Regions from separate parts of the Homo sapiens genome. Here all the other regions are linked to region 2. The links are contacts of gene promoters, found by promoter capture Hi-C in human tissues and cell types (Jung and others, 2019). All regions are on one chromosome and are shown on one strand. The core of a region is centred on a gene start or on the middle of the fragment in contact, and the rest is flanking DNA. Distances in the headings are between cores, read along the strand shown. Region 1 overlaps ZNF791 (zinc finger protein 791). Region 2 holds the start of ZNF20 (zinc finger protein 20). Region 3 holds the start of ZNF799 (zinc finger protein 799). Region 4 holds the start of ZNF443 (zinc finger protein 443).

The links. Contacts are between HindIII fragments. The study calls those that stand out against the background at their distance.
Region 1: a contact is called between a fragment that was not itself captured here and the fragment with the promoter of ZNF20 in region 2, in 1 of the 25 tissues and cell types used here (bladder).
Region 3: a contact is called between the fragment with the promoter of ZNF799 here and the fragment with the promoter of ZNF20 in region 2, in 1 of the 25 tissues and cell types used here (mesenchymal stem cells).
Region 4: the fragment with the promoter of ZNF443 here is called in contact with the fragment with the promoter of ZNF20 in region 2 in 1 of the 25 tissues and cell types used here (adrenal gland).

The regions. Positions count from the first base shown.
Region 1 is chr19:12,628,765-12,631,464 of GRCh38, reverse strand. It overlaps ZNF791 (zinc finger protein 791), which reads right to left. Exons shown (of 4, transcript NM_153358.3): 4 at 1-2,700. The coding sequence ends at 2,205. Among named protein-coding and RNA genes, the nearest start is that of ZNF791, 19 kb to the right of the region's middle. The HindIII fragment of the contact is 6,065 bases long and covers 1-2,700 here.
Region 2 is chr19:12,139,027-12,141,726 of GRCh38, reverse strand. ZNF20 (zinc finger protein 20) reads left to right here and starts at 1,377. Exons shown (of 4, transcript NM_021143.4): 1 at 1,377-1,547. The coding sequence starts at 1,545. It overlaps ZNF625-ZNF20 (ZNF625-ZNF20 readthrough (NMD candidate)), which reads left to right. Exons shown (of 8, transcript NR_037802.1): 5 at 1,402-1,547. RefSeq lists a silencer at 1,591-1,800. The HindIII fragment of the contact is 9,607 bases long and covers 1-2,700 here.
Region 3 is chr19:12,400,021-12,402,976 of GRCh38, reverse strand. It overlaps ZNF799 (zinc finger protein 799), which reads left to right and starts at 1,706. Exons shown (of 4, transcript NM_001080821.3): 1 at 1,706-1,909. The coding sequence starts at 1,907. RefSeq lists enhancers at 1,552-1,601, 2,322-2,411 and a silencer at 1,932-2,091. The HindIII fragment of the contact is 18,323 bases long and covers 1-2,956 here.
Region 4 is chr19:12,439,671-12,442,638 of GRCh38, reverse strand. ZNF443 (zinc finger protein 443) reads left to right here and starts at 1,618. Exons shown (of 4, transcript NM_005815.5): 1 at 1,618-1,727. The coding sequence starts at 1,725. RefSeq lists an enhancer at 1,170-1,439 and a silencer at 1,850-1,939. The HindIII fragment of the contact is 16,773 bases long and covers 1-2,968 here.

The DNA of each region.
Region 1 (2,700 bases), core at 108-2,607, 490 kb before region 2:
CCACCATGCCTTGCCTTAACTTTTATATCGTGTGTGATGAATTTATATCATGGTGTGAATTTTCTGGAGCATTTTACAGGCAGAGATTGCTTAATCATGGGTATATGTTCTGAGAAACGTGTTGTAGGTGATTTCCTCATGGTACAAACATCACAAAGTGAACTTACACAAATCTAGATGGTATAGCTACAACACATCTAGACTATATGGTACAGTCTATTGCTACTAGGCTATAAACCATACAACATGTTGTTGTACTGAACACTGTAGGAAATTGTAACAAAATGTTAAGTATTTATGAGTCTAAACACAGAAAATACACAGAGTAAACATGCAGTATAAAAGATAAAAAAGGATGCACCTGCATAGGACACTCCATGAACATAGCTTGCAGGACTAGAAGTTGCTCTGGGTGAGTCAGTTGAGTGGTGAGTGAATGCGAAGGCCCAGGATGTTACTGTACACTAATGGAGAATTTATAAACACTGTACACTTGGACTACACTACATTCATAAAAACATTTTTTCCTCAATAATGAATAAACCTTAACTTACTGTACATTATTTTCTTTATAAACTTATTTTTAAAAACTTTGTAATAATTTAGCTTAAAACACATTGTACAGCTGTACAAAAATATTTTATGTCCATATTCTATAAGCTTTTTCTATTAAATTTTTTTAAACTATTTTTGTTAAAGACTAACTAAGACACAAACACACATTAGTGTAGGACTACACGGGGTGAGGATCATCAATATCATTGTCTTCTGCCTCCATGTTTTGTCCCGCCAGAATACGTTCAGGGGCAGTCCTGCACATGGAGCCGTCATCGCCTATCATAACAAAGTTTTTCCGGGAATATCTCCTTAAGGACCTGCCTGAGACTGTCTTACTGTTAAAAAAACACAGGAATACATTCTAAAACAGGATTGTAAATATATAAACCAGTAACTTAGCCATTTATTATCAAGTATATATTGCACATCTGTGCTGTAATTTTTTTTTTTTCGAGACGGAGTCTCGCTCTGTCACCCAGGCTGGAGTGTAGTGGTAGATCTCAGCTCACTGCAATCTCCACCTCCCGGGTTCAAGCGATTCTCCTGCTTTGGCCTCCCAAGTAGCTGGGACTACAGGCACACCAGAACGCCCAGCTAATTTTCGTATTTCTAATGGAGACAGGGTTTCATCATGTTGACCAGGCTGGTCTTGAACTCCTGACCTCAACTGATTCTCCCACCTCAGCCTCCCAAAGTGCTGGGATTACAGGTATGAGCCACTGTGCCCAGCCAATTTTTTTTTTTTTTTTTTGATACAGTCTCACTGTCACCCATGCTGGACTGCCATCACGTGATCTTGGTTCACTGTAGCCTTGAACTCCTGGGCTCAGGCAATCCTCCTGCCTCAGCCTCCCATGTAGATGGGACTACAGGGTGTGCTACCACACTTAGAAAATGTTTTTATTTTTTGTAGAGACAGGGTCTCACTAGGTTGACCAGAGTAGTCCTGGCATCAAGCAATCCTACTGCCTTAGTCTCCCAGTGTTGGGATCACAGGTGTGACCATGCCCAGCTGTGTTGTACTTTTTTTTTTTTTTTTTTTTTGAGACAGAGTCTCGCTCTGTTGGCCGGATCTCAGCTCACTGTCAGCTCGGCCTCCTGGGTTTATGCCATTCTCCTGCCTCAGCCTCCCAAGTAGCTGGGACTACAGGCGCCCACCACCACGCCCGGCTAATTGTTTGTATTTTTAGTAGAGATGGGGTTTTACCGTGTTAGCCAGGATGGTCTTGATCTCCTGGCCTCGTGATCCGCCCGCCTTGGCCTCCCAAAGTGCTGGGATTACAGGCGTGAGCCACCGTCCCCGGCCGCTGTCTTGTACTTTTATACAACTGAAAGTGCAGCACGTTTACACCAGCACCATAAACACTTAAATAATGTGCTGCACTATGGTGTTACTACTGCTACTAAATTGCGGTTGATAGAAATGTTTTAGGTGTTATATAATCTTATGGGGCTACCAACCTATATGGTCCATTGCTGACTGAAACATGATTATGTGGTACCTGACTATACATGAATCATCTTGTATCTCGCTTTCTATATTACTTACATTGACAGGATTTCTCTCTTCAGTGGGAATTTTCACAACTTTGAAAGCATCTGTTAGAATTGAAAACTTTCTCCTATTTCTCACATTTATAGAGTTTCTATCGATTGTGCATTCTCATATGTTTTTTTAAGGATGTGGACACACTGAAGGCTTTTCCACATTGCTTACATTCAAGAGGTTTCTCATAATTGTGAATTCTTGTATGTCTTTGAAAGGAACTGTGAAGACTAAAGGCCTTCCCACATTCTTTACATTTATAGGGTTTCTCTCCAGTATGCATTCTCATGTGTCCTTGAAAGCTTGTGGGATAAATAAAGGCCTTCCCGCATTCCTTACATTCATAAGGTTTCTCCCCAGTGTGAGTTCTTTTATGTATCCGAATGTAACTAGAACAACTAAAGGCTTTTCCACATTGTTTACATTCATAGGGTTTCTCTCCAGTGTGAGTTCTTTCATGTGTTCGTAACGCACTAGGAAAAATGAACACCTTCCCACAGTCCCTACATTTATAAGGTCCGTCTCCAGTGTGGGTGATCATGTGTCTTCGAAAGTTCTCAAGAGAAATGAAGGTTTTTGCACATTCCTTACACTCA
Region 2 (2,700 bases), core at 128-2,627:
TCTCTGCAACCTCAGCCTCTTTGATACAAACGATTCTTCTGCCTCAGTCTCCCGAGTAGCTGGGATTACAGGTGGGCTCTACCACACCCGGCTAATTTTTGTATTTTTAGTAGAGACGGGATTTCACCATGTTGGTCACGCTGGTCTCCAACTCCTGATCTCAGGTGATCCAGCCACCTCGCCCTCCCAAAGTGCTGGGATTACAGGCTTGAGCCACAGCGCCCAGCCACTACTGCCTCACTTTCATGCAGTTAAATAATCTTGGACACTTCCTCCTCGACTTTATACATACACACTGGAGGAGAGCTTTGCTCGTGTGTTATTCTCGCAGTGGGATTGAGGATGTTTGTCTCATGGAAACTGATGAATGATGTGAGAAGCAGGTGAATAACCTGCAGGGGGCAGCAGAGACCGACGCCAGGGACGGGACGCTGAGGCTAGTATGGATCCTGCCAAGGAGTGAAGTGGAGTTCTGGGTGCTTCCTGGGCAGCCGCCCTCCCCTGCAGGTGGCTTGCAGCTGCTCAGAGCAGATCCAGAAAGAGTGTGGGTTCTGACATGCTGCAGCGCCCTGGAAAGCAGGAGACCCACGTGCAGGTGCACTTCAGGAGTTCTGTCCTTTCTGCGGCTGTACATCTGGAATCTGGGGCGGTTTTCGGGAGCAGTGTTTTGGGTTTGACATGCATAGAGTCCCTGGGGTCAGACTGTAATTTGCATATCTGAAGAAAATCCGTAAAGATCAAGTTCAGGGAAATAACTGTTTGGGACCTCTCCTGGAGAAGGGGCTTATGCAGTTGACAGTTTATTTAGGTCAGAAGCTTAAAATCACCAAGTGAGAGTTTTCTGCCGATGAAGATGAAGGTCTGGAAGGAGGGAGAGTTTCCACACTGTGAGGTGGGGTGAGATGTGTGAAAGCCTTGGCCATGTCTCATCCCTAATTCCGGGCCCCTGAAGGACAACTGCCTCTCCTTCTTGGTGCAGTCGTGCCTGGCCTGATCTGGGCTCCCCTTCCTGCTCTGAGGTCAGCACATCGCTCCATTGGACACTCAGTCTGGAATTCCCTGCACACACTTACAACCCTGTGCAGGACGAAGAAGCACTGACAGCCCATTGAATGAGGAAGAAGATAGTGCCCTGTGTAAAAATCAGGAGCAAATTTGGCTGAAAAGAAAATATCCAATGACCAGGGCTCAGGGAAGGAGTTGTCCCTTAGAGAGAAGCTGTGGCTAGAACCGATCAGTCCGGCTTTGCAGGGCTCGTTACCCAGGGCTTCTGCCGTCACTCAGTTCTGAGGGGGCGGGGCCTTGTACCTTGTCCAATCAGAAGCGCCGGGGCGGAGCCCGGCCAACGGTCCGTCCGGAAGGAGGAGGCCCATTCCAGCTTCTACTTTTGTTGCTATGCAGGTTGTTGTCGGGATACCAGATTTCCTACTCCGAGAGGCCCCGGGTCCCTCTGCCACAACTTCTGTCGCTCTGCCGCCTGCACCGTGACCCGCACTATTCACGGGAGCCCTAGAGAGGACACCGGGACACCCAGAAGCCGGGAAATGGTGAGTGTATGGGGCCGGAGTCCCCAGACGGGGGAGGGGCTGGGTGGAACCGGCCGGAAGCGGCTGTGGTGGGATCTGGGCCTCCTCGCCGCGCCTCCTGGATCTGGGACCCGAATCCCTCTGTCTCAGCTCGTCCCTGCGTCCCCTCGGCCGCAGGGTGCGGCTGGGCCGGCAGCCGGGACCCCGGGCGTCCTCCTGTTCTGTTCCTGCGCGGGCGACTGTGGGCCCCGACCCTGGAGCCCTCTCTGGGCAGCTCCGCGCCTGCAGCCCCGCGTCTCTTCAGATTTTGCGGGGACCACGGGAGGGTCATGGGGGAATCCTGCGGATTTTTTTTTCTGTTAAAGAGTTTGGGCCGGGCGCGGTGGACCATGCTTGTAATCCCAGCACTTTGGGAGGCCGAGGCTTGCGGATCACGAAGTCAGGAGATCGAGACCATCCAGGCTAACACAGTGAAACCCCGTCTCTACTAAAAATACAAAAAATTAGCCGGGCATGGTGGCATGCGCCTGTAGTCCCCGCTACTCAGGAGGCTGAAGCAGGAGAATCGCATGACCCCAGGAGACGAAGGTTGCAGTGAGCCGAGATCACGCCACTGCACTCCAACCTAGGGGACAGAGCGAGATTCCATCTCAAAAAAAAAAAAAAATTTAAAGAGTTTGAGCAAACAGCGATTCATGAGTGAGAAACGCCCAGTCATGATTTGTGGTTTTGGTACCAGAAAGTTTTAAGAAGAATTGCATTTTGTTAACGGTGGAGGGGGTCCAGGTTCTTGGCGTCTTGAACAAAGAATTGGACAAAACGCACAAAGCAAGGAAGGAATGAAGGGATTTAACACTCCACAGTGTGCAAGCGGGGCTGAGCACAGGGGCTCAAAGGCCCCGTTACAGAATTTTTGGGAGTTTAAATACCCCCTGGAGGATTCCATTGGTTACTTGGGGTATACTCTATGTAAAAGGAGAGGATGAAGTAAGGTTATAAAATCATTTACTTGGCTTACGCCCTATGGAGTAGGTATTTCCTTTCATAGCTGAAGTTTGAATAGGCCTTATGTTCCCTGCGTCCAGACCCTATTTTCCTGCCTCAATTTGAGTTTGATTTTGGTGTCCTTAGGTAGTTTCTTATAGCACTAAACACACTTCAGTCTAATTGCTGC
Region 3 (2,956 bases), core at 457-2,956, 260 kb before region 2:
GAGAAGGCAATACTTCCAAACTTATTTTACAAAGCCAATATTACTTTGACACCAAAACCAGACAAAGACATGTCAGAAAAAGAAAACTATAGGCCAGTGTCACTGATGAATATTGATGCAAAAATCCTCAACTCAATACTAGCAAACTGAATTTAACAATACACCAAAAAGATCATTCATCATGACCAAGTGGGCTTTATCCCTGGGATGCAAGGATGGTTCAATATATGCAAATCAATCAATGTGATGTATCATTTCAACAGAATAAAGGGCAAACACCATATAATCATTTCAATGTGCACTGAAAAAGCTTTTGATAATATTTAACATCCCTTCATGATAAAAACCCTAAAAAAAAACTGGGTATAGAAGCAGCTACCTTAACATAATAAAAGCCATATATGGCAGACCCACAGCTAGCATGATAATGAATGAGGAAAAACTGAAAGCCTTTCCTGTAAGATCTGGAACACAATAAGAATGCCCACTTTTACCACTGTTGTTCAGCACAGTACTCGAAGTCCCAGCTAGAGCAATAAGTCCAAAAAAAAAAAAAAAAAGAAATAAAGGGCATCTATATTGGGAAGGAAAGGAAGAAGTCAAATTATCCTGGTTTGCATATAATATGATCTTATATCTGGAAATACCTAAAGACTCCACCAAAAAAGTATTAGAACTGAGAAATAAATTCAGTAAAGTTGCAGGATACAATATTAACATACAAAAATCAGTAACATTTTTATATGCCAACAGTGAACAATCTGAAGCTACTTGAGAGGCTGAGGTGGGAGGATTGCTTGAGCTTGGGAGGTAGAGGTTGCAGTGAGCCATGATGGCCCCACTGCACTCCAGCCTAGGCAACAGAGCAAGACCCCATCTCAAACAACCAAAAACGTGTAGAAGGATGGTTACCACAGGCTGGGAAAAGTAGTAGCGAGGAGTAGTTATGGGGGAAGTGGGGATGGTTAATAGGTATAAAAAATAGTTACAAAGAATGAATAAGACCTAGTATTTGCTAGCACAACAGAGTGACTATAGTAAAAAATAATTTAATTGTACATTGAAATATTTTGAAAAATTTCATTGAAAAAGAGTATAATTGGAGCCAGGCGCGATGGCTCACGTCTCTAATCCCAGAACTTTGGGAGGCCAAGGTGGGCGGATCACGAGGTCAGGAGTTCGAGACCAGCCTGGCCAACATGGTGAAACCCGGCCTCTACTAAAACATACAAAAATTAGCCGGGTGTGGTGGCGCGCACCTGTAATCCCAGCTACTCGGGAGGCTGAGGCAGAATTGTTTGAACCCACCTAGGAGGCGGAGGTCGCAGTGAGCCTCGCACCATTGCACTCTAGCCTGAGCCACGGAGCAAGACTCCCTCTCTCTCTCTCTCTCTCTCTCTCTCTCTCGGAAAAAAAAAAAAAAAAAAAAAAAAAAGTATAATTGTTTTGTCAGTCAGTGTACAGGAGGAAGAAGCAGGAGGTCCTATTGAGTACAGGCAGGAAATTCCGCTTAAGTGCAAATATCCCTCGGGAGGATTCAGATCAAAGAGCAGGGAGGAAGCCCGCCCTGCCAAGGGCTGTGTCAGGAACTTGCTCATCTGGCTCCACTCAGCTGTGCAAGATCGCTTCTTCTGTCAATCAGTCCACGAGGGGCGGCACCTGACGCCGTATCCAGTAAGGGCCGTGGGGCGGGTTCGTGGGAACTGTCAATCAGGCGCGCTTCCCAGAGGAGTGTGTGGTTGAAAAAGCCCGCGGCGTCTTCTCCACCCACCTGCGCTGGGCGCTCGGTGCTCGGCTCTGTAGCTAAGAGACGACCTGGAAGTTCCGTGGCAGCCTGTGTCCCGCGGGAACCCGCATTGGCAGCGGGAGCCGTCCGGAGGACCTGGGACACCGCGGAAGTCGGGAAATGGTGCGTGTGCTGGGCCGGCGTCCCGAGGCGGGGGAGGGGCTGGGTGGAACCTGCAGTAATCGGCTGTGGCTGGACCCGGGCCTCCCCAAGGGCTACTCCGGGATCTACGGACCCGGGTTCCCCTGGCGTAGGTCGGCCCTCGGCCGCAGGGTGGGGCTGGGCATGCAGCCGGGACCCCGGGCGTCCTGTCCCGTTCCTGCGCGGCGACTGCGGCCCCGGCGCCCTCTCTGGGCAGCTCCGCGCCCGCAGCCTCGCGTCTCCCGAGATTGTGCGGCTGTAAGCAACACAGGTTCGCGGCCCGACTCACTGCACCGAGACGCTGAGGGCTGCAGCAGAAACAGTTTAATAGCCAGAGAGGGGAGGACACCCCAGATCCGCCTCCCTGAGGGATTTGGGGTCTGGACGGGGGCGGCTGGGTGTAGGGTCGTTGGTTGGTGGGGAAGTGAGGGGTGAATCCTGGGACAGGAGGTGAAGAAACCGCATTCTGCTGAATGGGCTCCCTCGTTGGGACTTCAACCTGATTGGCGCCAGCCTTTGCTGGGATTCAGGATCTGAGAACTCCGGCGACTCTTGAGCAGTTCTCAGAGATCTTATCCCCAGGCACAATGGGGAAGCCGGCGGTCAGCGTCTGCTGTGACCTGACTCTCAGGGAGGCGGCCCCTTGAGGCAGCGGGGCTGAGGGCACCTGGTTAATATCTAACTGCAATCTCGCCTCCAGCCTGGCTCGCAGTTCCTGTGAACCCGGTGAGGAGGCTGCACGGTGACGACGAGTCACCAGGTGGAATCCAGACTCGTGTGTGGGGTTTGTGTGTGGGAGGAGCTGTGGTCTCCGTGGTCCTCAGTCCCTTCTTTCTTTCCAAGGGCGACCGTTTCCCCTCTGAGTCTTCCAAAGATGTGGTTAGCAGGGTCTCAAATCCACCACTGTGTTCTCTCATCCTGACTCCTCCTAGGGCTGGCAGCAAATCTCTTGGTTTCCAGAGACTTCCCCAGGCTAACCTTCTGTCCTTAATTCACAGCAACGGTATGAACTGTTTGGCCCCCAGGCGA
Region 4 (2,968 bases), core at 369-2,868, 300 kb before region 2:
AAACTGAATTTAACAATACACCAAAAAGATCATTCATCATGACCAAGTGGGCTTTATCCCTGGGATGCAAGGATGGTTCAATATATGCAAATCAATCAATGTGATGTATCATTTCAACAGAATAAAGGGCAAACACCATATAATCATTTCAATGTGCACTGAAAAAGCTTTTGATAATATTTAACATCCCTTCATGATAAAAACCCTAAAAAAAAGTGGGTAAAGAAGGAGCATACCTTAACATAATAAAAGCTATATATGGCAGACCCACAGCTAGCATGATAATGAATGGGGAAAAACTGAAAGCCCTTCCTGTAAGATCTGGAACACAATAAGAATGCCCACTTTTACCACTGTTGTTCAACACAGTACTTGAAGTCCCAGCTAGAGCAATAAGACAAAAAAAAAAAAAAGAAAAAAAAAGAAATAAAGGGCATCCATATTGGGAAGGAAGAAGTCAAATTATCCTTGTTTGCATATAATATGATCTTATATCTGGAAATACCTAAAGACTCCACCAAAAAAGTATTAGAACTGAGAAATAAATTCAGTAAAGTTGCAGTATACAATATCAACACACAAAAATCAATAACATTTTTATATGCCAACAGTGAACAATCTGAAGCTACTTGAGAGGCTGAGGTGGGAGGATTGCTTGAGCTTAGGAGGTAGAGGTTGCAGTGAGCCATGATGGCCCCACTGCACTCCAGCCTAGGTAACAGAGCAAGACCCCATCTCAAACAACCAAAAATGTGTAGAAGGATGGTTACCAGAGGCTGCGAAAAGTAGTAGCGAGGAGTAGTTATGGGGGAAGTGGGGATGGTTAATAGGTATAAAAAATAGTTACAAAGAATGAATAAGACCTAGTATTTGCTAGCACAACAGAGTGACTATAGTAAAAAATAATTTAATTGTACATTGAAAAATCTTGAAAAATTTCATTGAAAAAGAGCATAATTGGAGCCAGGCGCAGTTGCTCACGCCTCTAATCCCAGAACTTTGGGAGGCCAAGGTAGGCGGATCACGAGGTCACGAGTTTGAGACCAGCCTGGCCAACATGGTGAAACCCAGCCTCTACTGAAAAATACAAAAATTAGCCGGGTGGTGGCGCGTGCCTGTAATCCTAGCTACTCGGGAGGCTGAGGCAGGAGAATTGCTTGAACCCACCCAGGAGGCGAAGGTTGCAGTGAGCCTCGCACCATTGCACTCTAGCCTGGGCGACAGAGCAAGACTCCCTCTCGAGGAAAAAAAAAAAAAAAGATATAATTAGTTTGTCAGTCCGTGTCCAGGAGGAAGAAGCAGGAGGTCCTATTGAGTACGGGCAGGAAATTCCGCTTAAGTGCAAATATAACCCGGGAGGATTCAGATCAAAGAGCAGGGAGGAAGCCCCCCCTGCCAAGGGCTGTGTCAGGAACTTGCTCATCCGGCTCCACTCAGCTGTGCAAGATCGCTTCTTCTGTCAATCAGCCCTCAGGGGGCGGGACCTGACGCCCTATCCAATCAGGGGCGTGGGGCGGGTTCGTGGGAACTGTCAATCAGGCACTGCCCAGAGAAGTGTGTGTGGTTGAAAAAGCCCGCGGCGTCTGCTCCACCCACCTGCGCTCGGCTCTGGGTTCTGTAGCTGAGAGACGACCTGGAAGTTCTGAGGCAGCCTTTGTCTGGCTGGAACACGCATTGGCAGCGGGAGCTGTCGGTAGGACCTGGGACACCGCGGAAGTCGGGAAATGGTGCGTGTGCTGGGCCGGCGTCCCGAGGCGGGGGAGGGGTTAGGTGGAACCGGCCGTAATCGGCTGTGGCTGGACCCGGGCCTCCCCAAGGGCGACTTCGGGATCTACGGACCCGGGTCCCCCTGGCGTAGGTCGGCCCTCGGCCGCAGGGTGGGGCTGGGCATGCAGCCGGGACCCCGGGCGTCCTGTCCCGTTCCTGCGCGGCGACTGCGGCCCCGGCGCCCTCTCTGGGCAGCTCCGAGCCCGCAGCCCCGGGTCTCCCCAGATTGTGCGGCTGTAACCAACACAGGTTCGCGGCCCGACTCACTGCACCGAGACGCCGAGGGCTGCAGCAGAAACGGTTTAACAGGAGGAGAGGGGAGGACACCCCAGATCCGCCTCCCTGAGGGATTTGGGGTCTGGACGGGGGCGGCTGGGTGTAGCGTCCTTGGTTGGTGGGGAAGTGAGGGGTGAATCCTGGGACAGGAGGTGAAGAAACCGCATTCTGCTGAGAGGGCTCCCTCGTGGGGTCTTCAACCTGGTTGGCGCCAGCCTTTCTGCTGGGATTCAGGATCTGAGAACTCCGGCGACTCTTGAGCAGCACTCGGAGATCTTATCCCCAGGCACAATGGGGAAGCCGGCGGTCAGCGTCTGCTGTGACCTGACTCTCAGGGAGGCGGCCCCTTGAGGCAGCGGGGCTGAGGGCACCTGTTTAATATCTAACTGCAATCTCGCCTCCAGCCTGGCTCGCAGTTCCTGTGAACCCGGTGAGGAGGCTGCACGGTGACGACGAGTCACCAGGTGGAATCCAGACTCGTGTGTGGGGTTTGTGTGTGGGAGGAGCTGTGGTTTCCGTGGTCCTCAGTCCTTTCTTCCTTTCCAAGGGCGACCGTTTCCCCTCTGAGTCTTCCAAAGACGTGGGCAGCAGGGTCTCAAATCCACCACTGTGTTCTCTCATCCTGACTCTTCCTAGGGCTGGCAGCAAATCTCTTGGTTTCCAGAGACTTCCCCAGGCTAACCTTCTGTCCTTAATTCACAGCAACAGTATGAACTGTTTGGCCCCAGGCGATATTTCACTAGTTTGTCATCTTGTTTTCAGCTAGCAATGTATGGCTTTTTCTTGAAAGAATTGTTTTGGGTTCCTGAACACGGTGGGTCATTCCTGTAATTCCAGCACCTTGGGAGGCTAAGGCAGAGGTATTGCTTGATCCCAGTAGTTCCAGACCAGCCTGGGCAACATGGCAAGACTTTGTCTCTAGTGT